Linked DNA regions of Homo sapiens: all the other regions are linked to region 3. The links are contacts of gene promoters, found by promoter capture Hi-C in human tissues and cell types (Jung and others, 2019). All regions are on one chromosome and are shown on one strand. The core of a region is centred on a gene start or on the middle of the fragment in contact, and the rest is flanking DNA. Distances in the headings are between cores, read along the strand shown. Region 1 overlaps PREX2 (phosphatidylinositol-3,4,5-trisphosphate dependent Rac exchange factor 2). Region 2 overlaps C8orf34 (chromosome 8 open reading frame 34). Region 3 holds the start of C8orf34 (chromosome 8 open reading frame 34).

Region 1 (2,700 bases), core at 95-2,594, 140 kb before region 3:
ATTCAATTATCTCCATCTGGCCCCACCCTTGACACGTGAGGATTATAACAATTCAGTGAGACTTGGATGGGGACACAGCCAAACCATATCAGCCATCCATAAAGAAACAAAAATGTCAAGTTATTATTTATTTACAAATATTTATTAAGATCATACTATGTTCCACATACTATTACAGGTGCTAGAGATGCAGAAATGAATAAAAATAAATAAAATCCTTAGCTACTAGAGGATTTGCATTCTAGTGGGGAGTTTACATTTTAGTGGCAGAAATGAAATAAGAATAGGTGAACAGGAGGCTTCCACTGTATTTGTAATATTTTATTTATTTAAAAGGTGAAGCAAAAGAACAAAATGCTCAGACTTGTTAAAGCATGGTGCATAAGTGGGTTTTCACAGTTTAATCCTACATAAGTACCTGTACAATTGACGTGAAAGGACACACAGACCTTTCAGTAGAACATGAATTGTTGGACATAGCAATAATATTTAAAACGTCCAGTCTTCTGGCAATGAGGCAAGTTCCATGGCCATTTACCTCTGTGGCTCCCAACTTGCTTAGGGTAAAACCTTATCAGGGCCTGTAAGGTCCTGGGGTCTACCTCTCTGGCCTAACTTGCTCTTTCACTCTGCCCCAGCTCCTGCCCCATTGCATGTTCCTCACACAATTCAAGCTCATTTCCTTTTATGATGACAGCACTCCTCTCAGATTATATCTCTTTCAGATACTGGGGAAAATCTTGAAAATTTTAAAATGATGTCTCAAATGAGACCTTTGATTTTCATCATGGAAATAATCCCTCAGTCTTTTATTTTGCTCTTGATCTAGTGCTTTTATAGACACTAATTCACTCAGCTAGTTAGAACTGTATTTCATGGCACTTGATGGATGTTCCACTTTGCAGTGGCTCATGTCACCATGACCCAGTCTGGTGGGTTGCTGCCTGGGGTTGCTGTAGCCCCCACACTCCCATCAGTGTTATGTGCTTAGGCTGAGGGAACTGCAGATGGTACCTGGAAATCTCTTAGGAATGCAAAGAGAGTTATAATGAGTAACAGCCAATCTTGGATGCTGAGTTGTTTACAAAACTTTTTGAGGAGGATTCAATATGTATTTTAGACAAGAAGGAACTGCTTCTCAATAAAGATGAGCATAATTGTCATTTTGGAAATTAGTCTTTAGAGCTAAAGCATTCATAATTTAAAGTGTAAAGCTTGAATAATCCATGTTACTTTATTTTAAAAAGACAAAACACTATTGCTAGTAATGGGAATATCACTGTGTGTGGGTGTGAACACATATGTTCAGTGGGACTCAAAAATCCCACACAGGGTATAGCGTTGTCGCTCACTGATTTTGCCCAATTATACTGTGAATTTGATAATAATTTACCAACACTTTGAAGTCCTACAGATGCTCTGAAACAACAATATAATCAGCTTTTATTTGAATATCTAATATGACAACTCACTCTAATATCATGGGACTTATTTTGTTCCACCGACATTAAAATGTCACATTCTAGAAATGTGAAGTTTGTCACCTCATCAAAAATAGATACTAGATGGTGAATTTGAATGTATTTAATGCCATTGAACTGTATGCTTGAGAATGCTCAAAACGGCATAATATGCAGCTGTAAAAAACAATGAGATTATGTGCCTTGTAGCAACATGGATGGAGCTGGAGGCATTATCCTAAGTGAAATAACTCAGAAACAGAAAATTTAATACCATATGTTCCCACTTACACAGAGATAGAAGCAATAGATACTGAGGGTTGAAAAGCAATACACACTTTTCACAACCCCCTTCCCACCTCTTCCCACTTGTGGAGAGGTAGGAAGGGGATGAGGGTTGAAAACTTACCTATTGGGTACAATGGTCACTATTTGAGTGATGGGTACAGTAGAAGCCCAAATCCCACCATTATGTAATATATCCATGTAAAAAACATGTATGTATACCCTCTGAATCTAAAATAAATTAAAAGAATGGTTAAAATGCTAAATTTTGTATTATACTGTATACATTTTACCATCACTAAAAAAAATAGATACTAGATCAAATAAAATGTAACTATTTTATCTCCATAGATGATTCCCTTAAAATTTCTGTTTAGTATCGAGCCACAAGCAAAGCAAACACAGCGATAATTATTTGGAAATTGCTGTAATTATTGCAGGCCACTAGGATTCCACTTTGCATATTAAAATGGCTATTTTAATACACAAAATGGCATGAAATACTATACAGCCATAAAATAGAATGAGATCATATCCTTTGCAGTGTGTCCTTTGTTTTTTGCACAAAGTGTATTAGGCCACTAGGATTCCACTTTGTGTGTTGAAATAGTCATTACCATATTGTATCCTGGTAATAAAAAAGAGCCATTGAACCCTTAGAGAGAGTTTCACTTCTAATCGGAGCATAACTTGGTGCTGGAAAGAATCGCCTCAGTGTTGTTTAAAGTTAGGTTTTTATGAGCCTTCGTTCCATAATCTTTCTCACAATAAATGAAAATTGGATAACGTTCTTCAATAGTCACAAAAATGTATTTCTTCAACTTTTTAATAATATTGATCATTATAAATATTAATAAGCACTTATTCTGTGCTGTGCACTGTTCTACATATTTTATCTGCATTAACTCATTTAATCTTGGCAGTCTTATGAAGTAGAAGCTAATGCTTTCCTCAA
Region 2 (2,700 bases), core at 126-2,625, 160 kb after region 3:
AATGTTTATAATTGCACTCTGAGATCTCTTAGTCTCACATCTTCCCCTTGACTGTGGTGCTGTCATATCTGAGTTCTCCATCACGGTTCACTCAGCAGTGATACAGCCCAGCTCCAATGCCAGCCCTCCTTAAAGCTTTTTCTCCTTTAACTGTTTGAAGGCACTACCTTCATAATACAGCAAGTCCTTGAATAATTGTTAAGCTTTGGTCACCCCAAATCCCTGAAATGGTAGTTAGACTCTCTTTTGATGTGACACATAAAAATTCTTAGTTACCAATGACTTCTACCAAAAAAAGAATTTTATAAAATATTGAAGAATAAGCCCCAAATGTACCTGTGTTTCTAGTGTCATCTACAAGGGGATCTACAATGGTGTCATTTACTGAGATGAAGTTGTGCGTACTTTTTCAGCTTTGTGTATAATTGATTCATTAGGTTAGTGGTGTGGGAGATGATATAAGAACTAATGAAATATCATTTATACCCTCCACATCTATACCCGAGGCAGGCAGGGGATCTGAACCCTGTAACTCACTCTTTCTACTGAGGTTCATTGTCCTGAGGCTGCTTTCAGGTTCTTTCTTCCAACCCAGCTCATTCTTTCTTGTTCTTTGTAGTCTGCTGAACTTCAGCTTCAATTCCTATTCTTATTTTCTCCAAGTTCTCCTGGGCTTCAAACTTTAGACCTTTCCTTATCTCTTGGCTCGTTCCCTACAGGGGTTTGACACCAACCCCCCTTTGCTCTGTGCCCTGAATGTGAGAGCTGGCCACACCTGCTCCAGCGCCCTGCCACAGTGCTGAAGTTTAGCCCCATTGTTCAAAAGAATAAAACGCAGAGTGAGTTGAGGAGGATGATGTCTTTAGTCTGACAAGTTGATAATGGAATGCCCACAAGAATTCAACAATTAGCTCAGGAAGAAAGTCTGTGCTGGCAGTAAAGATGTGCCATATAGAGAAATAAAAATATCAAAGGTATGGGGTAGATTATCAAGAGAAGTATATCAAATGAGAAGAAAAGACAGCTCAACAAAGAGCCCTTGCCATTTCAGGAAAGGACCCCTATCCCTGCAAAAAAGGGAATTCCTGTGAAGGAGACAAAGGAGAACAGAAAAGAGAGGACAGCATTTCAGTAAAGTGGAATTGATAGTGTATCATCACAGAGAAATAAGTTAAGGACTAAACTTTTTACATTGCTGACTTAGAATAATTTTGGAGAAAGGATAAAGATAGAAATTATACTGATGTGCAGTGAGAAATATGTGGATGGTGGGGGAAGGAACTTGTGATGAAGAATCATTTACGCATTGGCTCGAGGAGCTGTCAATCTGAGGGACTGTGGGAAAATTCCTTAAACTTTCTCATCTATTTCCTCATCCACAAACTAAAGACATTAGAATAAGTCATCTTGGACCACCATTCTGCCTTAATATCTAATTATTCTGGGAATCTAAATTCTTAACAAGGAGCAAAATAGTAACAGGCTAAATTATACTTTATTGTCATCATAACATAAAAATGATATCTCTACAATTACATTCGCAAGTTTGTTCTGCCTTTAACCACCTGCAAGGAATATGGCGCTGCTTTGTTTTTGTTGCATCATTTGCATTGCTTCAGCAGTTCATGGCTGTCATAATTGACTTAAATTCCTAATTTGTTTTCATTGGTAAAAGGATGTGCCACATTATTTTGAAGCACTAATAAAAAGAAAACAAATAGAATAGGAAATGCACTACTTTTACAAATAGAAAGTTTGTTTTGAACATTAGGTTACTAAAGATTGCTTCTAAAACTTTTTTTTATAAATCTCTTTTAAATCCCAGGTATTGCAATTTCAGATGAACTCGATAAGGTAAGTTGAACTATACATCTGGTGAAAAGAAAATGTAGAACTTACCTTTTATTCCACTGTCTCAACATAAATAAATTTTCTGAAACATAAAATGTTCAAGTATAATTTATTTGGGCTAACATTTTAAAACTTTGAAAGTTAAATGCATATTGTTTTATGAAAGCTATTCCATTAAATATATATATCACCTACTCTTTTGAGTCAAGGCCTTTAGAATTTGGTTAGAGAAAATGGAATCACTGTAATCACTGAATCACTATATTGCAAAATAACTTCATAACACTATATTATGTAAATTATTTTATTCCACTTGTATCTAAATGATAATGATATGGAAAACATTGTATTTTTTGATAGCTCCTCTTTGGAAACCTTACCAATAAAGCTTTTTGTTTGTTTATTTTAATTTTCCGAGATGCCAAGAGACTATGATGGTACTTTGAAGTGGGGTAGTAGTTATGATGGTGGTGAGAAGTGGTGTGGTTAGAAATATATTTCTATAGTTGTGTCACTGGAACTTGCTAATGGATTGGATGTGGGGAATTGCAGAACAAATCAGTCAATGATGGATTGCTAGGTTTGGGAGATGAGCAACTAGGTCAATTGTGGTACTGCTTACTAAAATTAGAAAAACTAGGAAAAAATCAAATTTGTCAGGTTTGGATAACATTAAGAGTTCTCATTTAGATTGTTTATTTTGAATTGCCTATTAAACATGTTTATATGAGTTGTTGCTTATGAGAGAGATTTGATTTATAACTAAACATATTCTCATTTTTCTAGTCTCAAAAGCCCTTTACATTGTTAAAAATTGGAGAGGACCCCAAAGAGTCTTGATTTATAAAG
Region 3 (2,700 bases), core at 8-2,507:
AGTATTAATGTGGACATCTTTCCACTCTGGATCAAGTCCATTTCAGGTTATCAGGGATGGTTAAGCTCCTAGCTATTCTAGCAGATTTCTTATGTCTTAATGCATGAAATTAATAATAGTTCCTGGGATATTCCACACTTATCTATTACATGTTTCCACATATTTAAAATACAGAAGGAAAACATGAACACCAATAAAGAAACTATGAGTAACAGAAATCCAGAACACAGTGAAGAAAGAAAGAAAAAAATATATACTGCTGCAGTCAGCTTTTAGGAAAACTGTTTCCATCATTCTGAAAATTTATATTTATTAGAAATAAATCTAATTTTGGCAGCACATCATGGTTAGGAGCCAGGGAAATTGTCATTGGGACCTTAGTATTGTATTTCACAAGAAAGAGAGCTCTGTGAGGAAGCCTGGGCTATCTGCAAACCTTCGACTCGGAAATCCCTGCATAATAAGAAAGGTATTGGCTAAATTTGAGCAGCTCACGCAGTATCTAGAGGAAACATTATGAAGTGGGATAGTGTGGTGTCTGAGATGCAGTTATAGGTATACAGACATGACTCAAGGCGTGGATTAGGAAGGCCAACTTTGGAGGGGAGGGCTGGCTCGCTCATTTCTCTTCTCCCTGTCAAATGCTGAAAGGCTGGTTCCAGCCTTTGAGCTCCTGCACTTTGAGAGTTTTCAGCTGGGTTCTCAGGCTGCGTTCACCCGTCGACTTGCTCCAGGCCAAACCAGATTTTGAAAAGGAAGGCAACTTCTTTTTCGCGGCAAACCCTTAAACCCACGCACCTTCTCAAAACTCTGCCCTTCTCAACCCCTGCGCTAGAGTAGGCAGGGCAGAAGGTGCTGAGGAGAGGCTCAGAAGGGGCGGTGGGGACGATCCCCTTTCGAACTGCATTTGTAGCTGCCAAGGAGTAGCCAACAAGCACCAGATTTATGTGCACTTTGAAAGAAGCACCTTCACCATTGGCTTTTTAAGCGGCGCTGTCGCTAGGGAGCGGCTGGTAGGGCGAGCAGCCTCGGGGAGCAGCCCGGGCTGTTTGTTCCGTCACCGGGGAAAGGAGGTACACACAGTCGCGCGCGCACGGACACACACACACACGCACGCACGCACACACACCGGTGGCGAGTTCGAGCCCCGCGGCCCCTGTCCGCCCGCGTGCGCCCCTCGACACAGCTCGCCTCCCGCCCCCTGATTCCTGCTGCTGCCGCCCAGAGGAGAAAGGAACCTCTGCCTCGAATTTCCCCACTGCGCCGGGCGCTGCGGAGAGCGGCGAGGGTGGGCGCGAGGCGGAGAACGCGATGAATGAGTTCTCCCCTCGCCTCGGAGTTGTCTGAGTTGGCGGCGCTGCGCCCAGGCTTCCGGCTCTCAGCGCCCCACGCGCGCGTGGCTCCCCGGGCTGCCACCCACGCCCGCGGCCGGGGCCGAGCCAGCCACGCAGGGCAGCCGAGGCTCCGGAGCTCCTGTCCCGGCCCCAGTCCGGGTAAAAGGAGGGTTGTCCCCAGCGGAGGCGCACAGCCGCGCGTTCTCCCTGCACTCTCTTCGCGGTCCCATCTGTTCCCCATGGCGTCTCATCCGCAAACCCGGATCCAGGCTTACCTGGAGAAGAACAAGATCGGTCCCCTGTTTGAGGTAAGGCGCTGTGGAGGAGGGCAGTCCCGTTGTCTTTAGGGGAAGGGGTGCAGTAATGAAAACAGAACACTCCCAATCCCACCCCTCCCAGGGAAGGAGGGCTAGAGAACCAACGCGCGGGAGAGGGCGCCCTGGGATTCACTGGCATTCGCTCTGTCCCGGCCAGGTGTCCTGGAACGCGGCCGGGCGGGCACTTAGCCAGTTACCTGAACGCGGACAGGTGAGCTCGGGAGGGCCCAGCCTCAGCCTGGCAGGGGAAGTTTTGGCCCTCTGACTGTCCTGCACCTCTCAGCTACATGTTCAGGACCCGGGCAGGCTGAGGCAGGCGACGCATACGGATGCACACACTCAGACTGTGTTGCACACGCACACTTTCTTTTTTGAATTCACGCTATCTTGAGTGTTCGTGTTGGATTTTCTTTTTTCTTTTCTTTTCTTTCCTTCTTTTTTTTTTTTTTTTTTTTTTTTTTTTTAATGAGGGCGGTAATAGAACCCGAAAAGGTGGAGGAGGTGCTTAGCAGTTAATACAATTAACTGGAAGACAGCTGAACTGGTGAGGAGTAGGCTTCAGTCGGTGCGGGCGTGATGAATGAAATTGGCAAACTGAGAGACTGCCATTTGGTCACTGGACGAAAGGAGAGTCCTTTGCACTGCAGACCCCACATGTGTTAGCAGGAGAAAGGGACGGAGAAAGGTTCTGAAAAGCACACACGTATTTGTGGAAGAAGACTATAGCTCTGAGCTGGTTTTGTTTTTTTTTCTCTCTCTCGCCATTAAAGAATTTAAGACAAAAATACAGTAGAAGGAAGAGCGCGAGGACACGAGAAAATGAGAACAAGAGATTGAAGCCTGGCACCAGCAAAGCGTCCCGCGGGTTGCCAGGGTGCTGAGCAGGGGTGGGGCGTGCGGACCGTAGTCAGAAGTGGAGGCCCTTGCGGAGGGACTCCCTTGGTCCCATCCAGTTCAGGGGGCACTGACCGGCGGCGAGAGTTCGCGGGAGGGTCGAGGTGCTCCCGCCTTGCCCCCGCCTTGCCCCCGCCTTGCCCCCGCCCCCCACG

What was found. The method cuts DNA at HindIII sites, captures the fragments that hold promoters and counts their contacts. A contact is called where the count stands out against the background at its distance.
Region 1: a fragment that was not itself captured here is called in contact with the fragment with the promoter of C8orf34 in region 3 in 1 of the 25 tissues and cell types used here (hippocampus).
Region 2: a fragment that was not itself captured here is called in contact with the fragment with the promoter of C8orf34 in region 3 in 2 of the 25 tissues and cell types used here (aorta and dorsolateral prefrontal cortex).

The regions. Positions count from the first base shown.
Region 1 is chr8:68,188,767-68,191,466 of GRCh38, forward strand. All of the region lies in intron 35 of PREX2 (phosphatidylinositol-3,4,5-trisphosphate dependent Rac exchange factor 2), which reads left to right. Among named protein-coding and RNA genes, the nearest start is that of C8orf34, 140 kb to the right of the region's middle. The HindIII fragment of the contact is 3,785 bases long and covers 1-2,700 here.
Region 2 is chr8:68,486,198-68,488,897 of GRCh38, forward strand. It overlaps C8orf34 (chromosome 8 open reading frame 34), which reads left to right. Exons shown (of 14, transcript NM_052958.4): 5 at 1,826-1,854. Among named protein-coding and RNA genes, the nearest start is that of C8orf34-AS1, 160 kb to the left of the region's middle. The HindIII fragment of the contact is 4,532 bases long and covers 1-2,700 here.
Region 3 is chr8:68,329,698-68,332,397 of GRCh38, forward strand. It overlaps C8orf34 (chromosome 8 open reading frame 34), which reads left to right and starts at 1,258. Exons shown (of 14, transcript NM_052958.4): 1 at 1,258-1,642. The coding sequence starts at 1,316. C8orf34-AS1 (C8orf34 antisense RNA 1) reads right to left here and starts at 1,794. Exons shown (of 3, transcript NR_038877.1): 1 at 1,610-1,794. The HindIII fragment of the contact is 5,240 bases long and covers 1-2,700 here.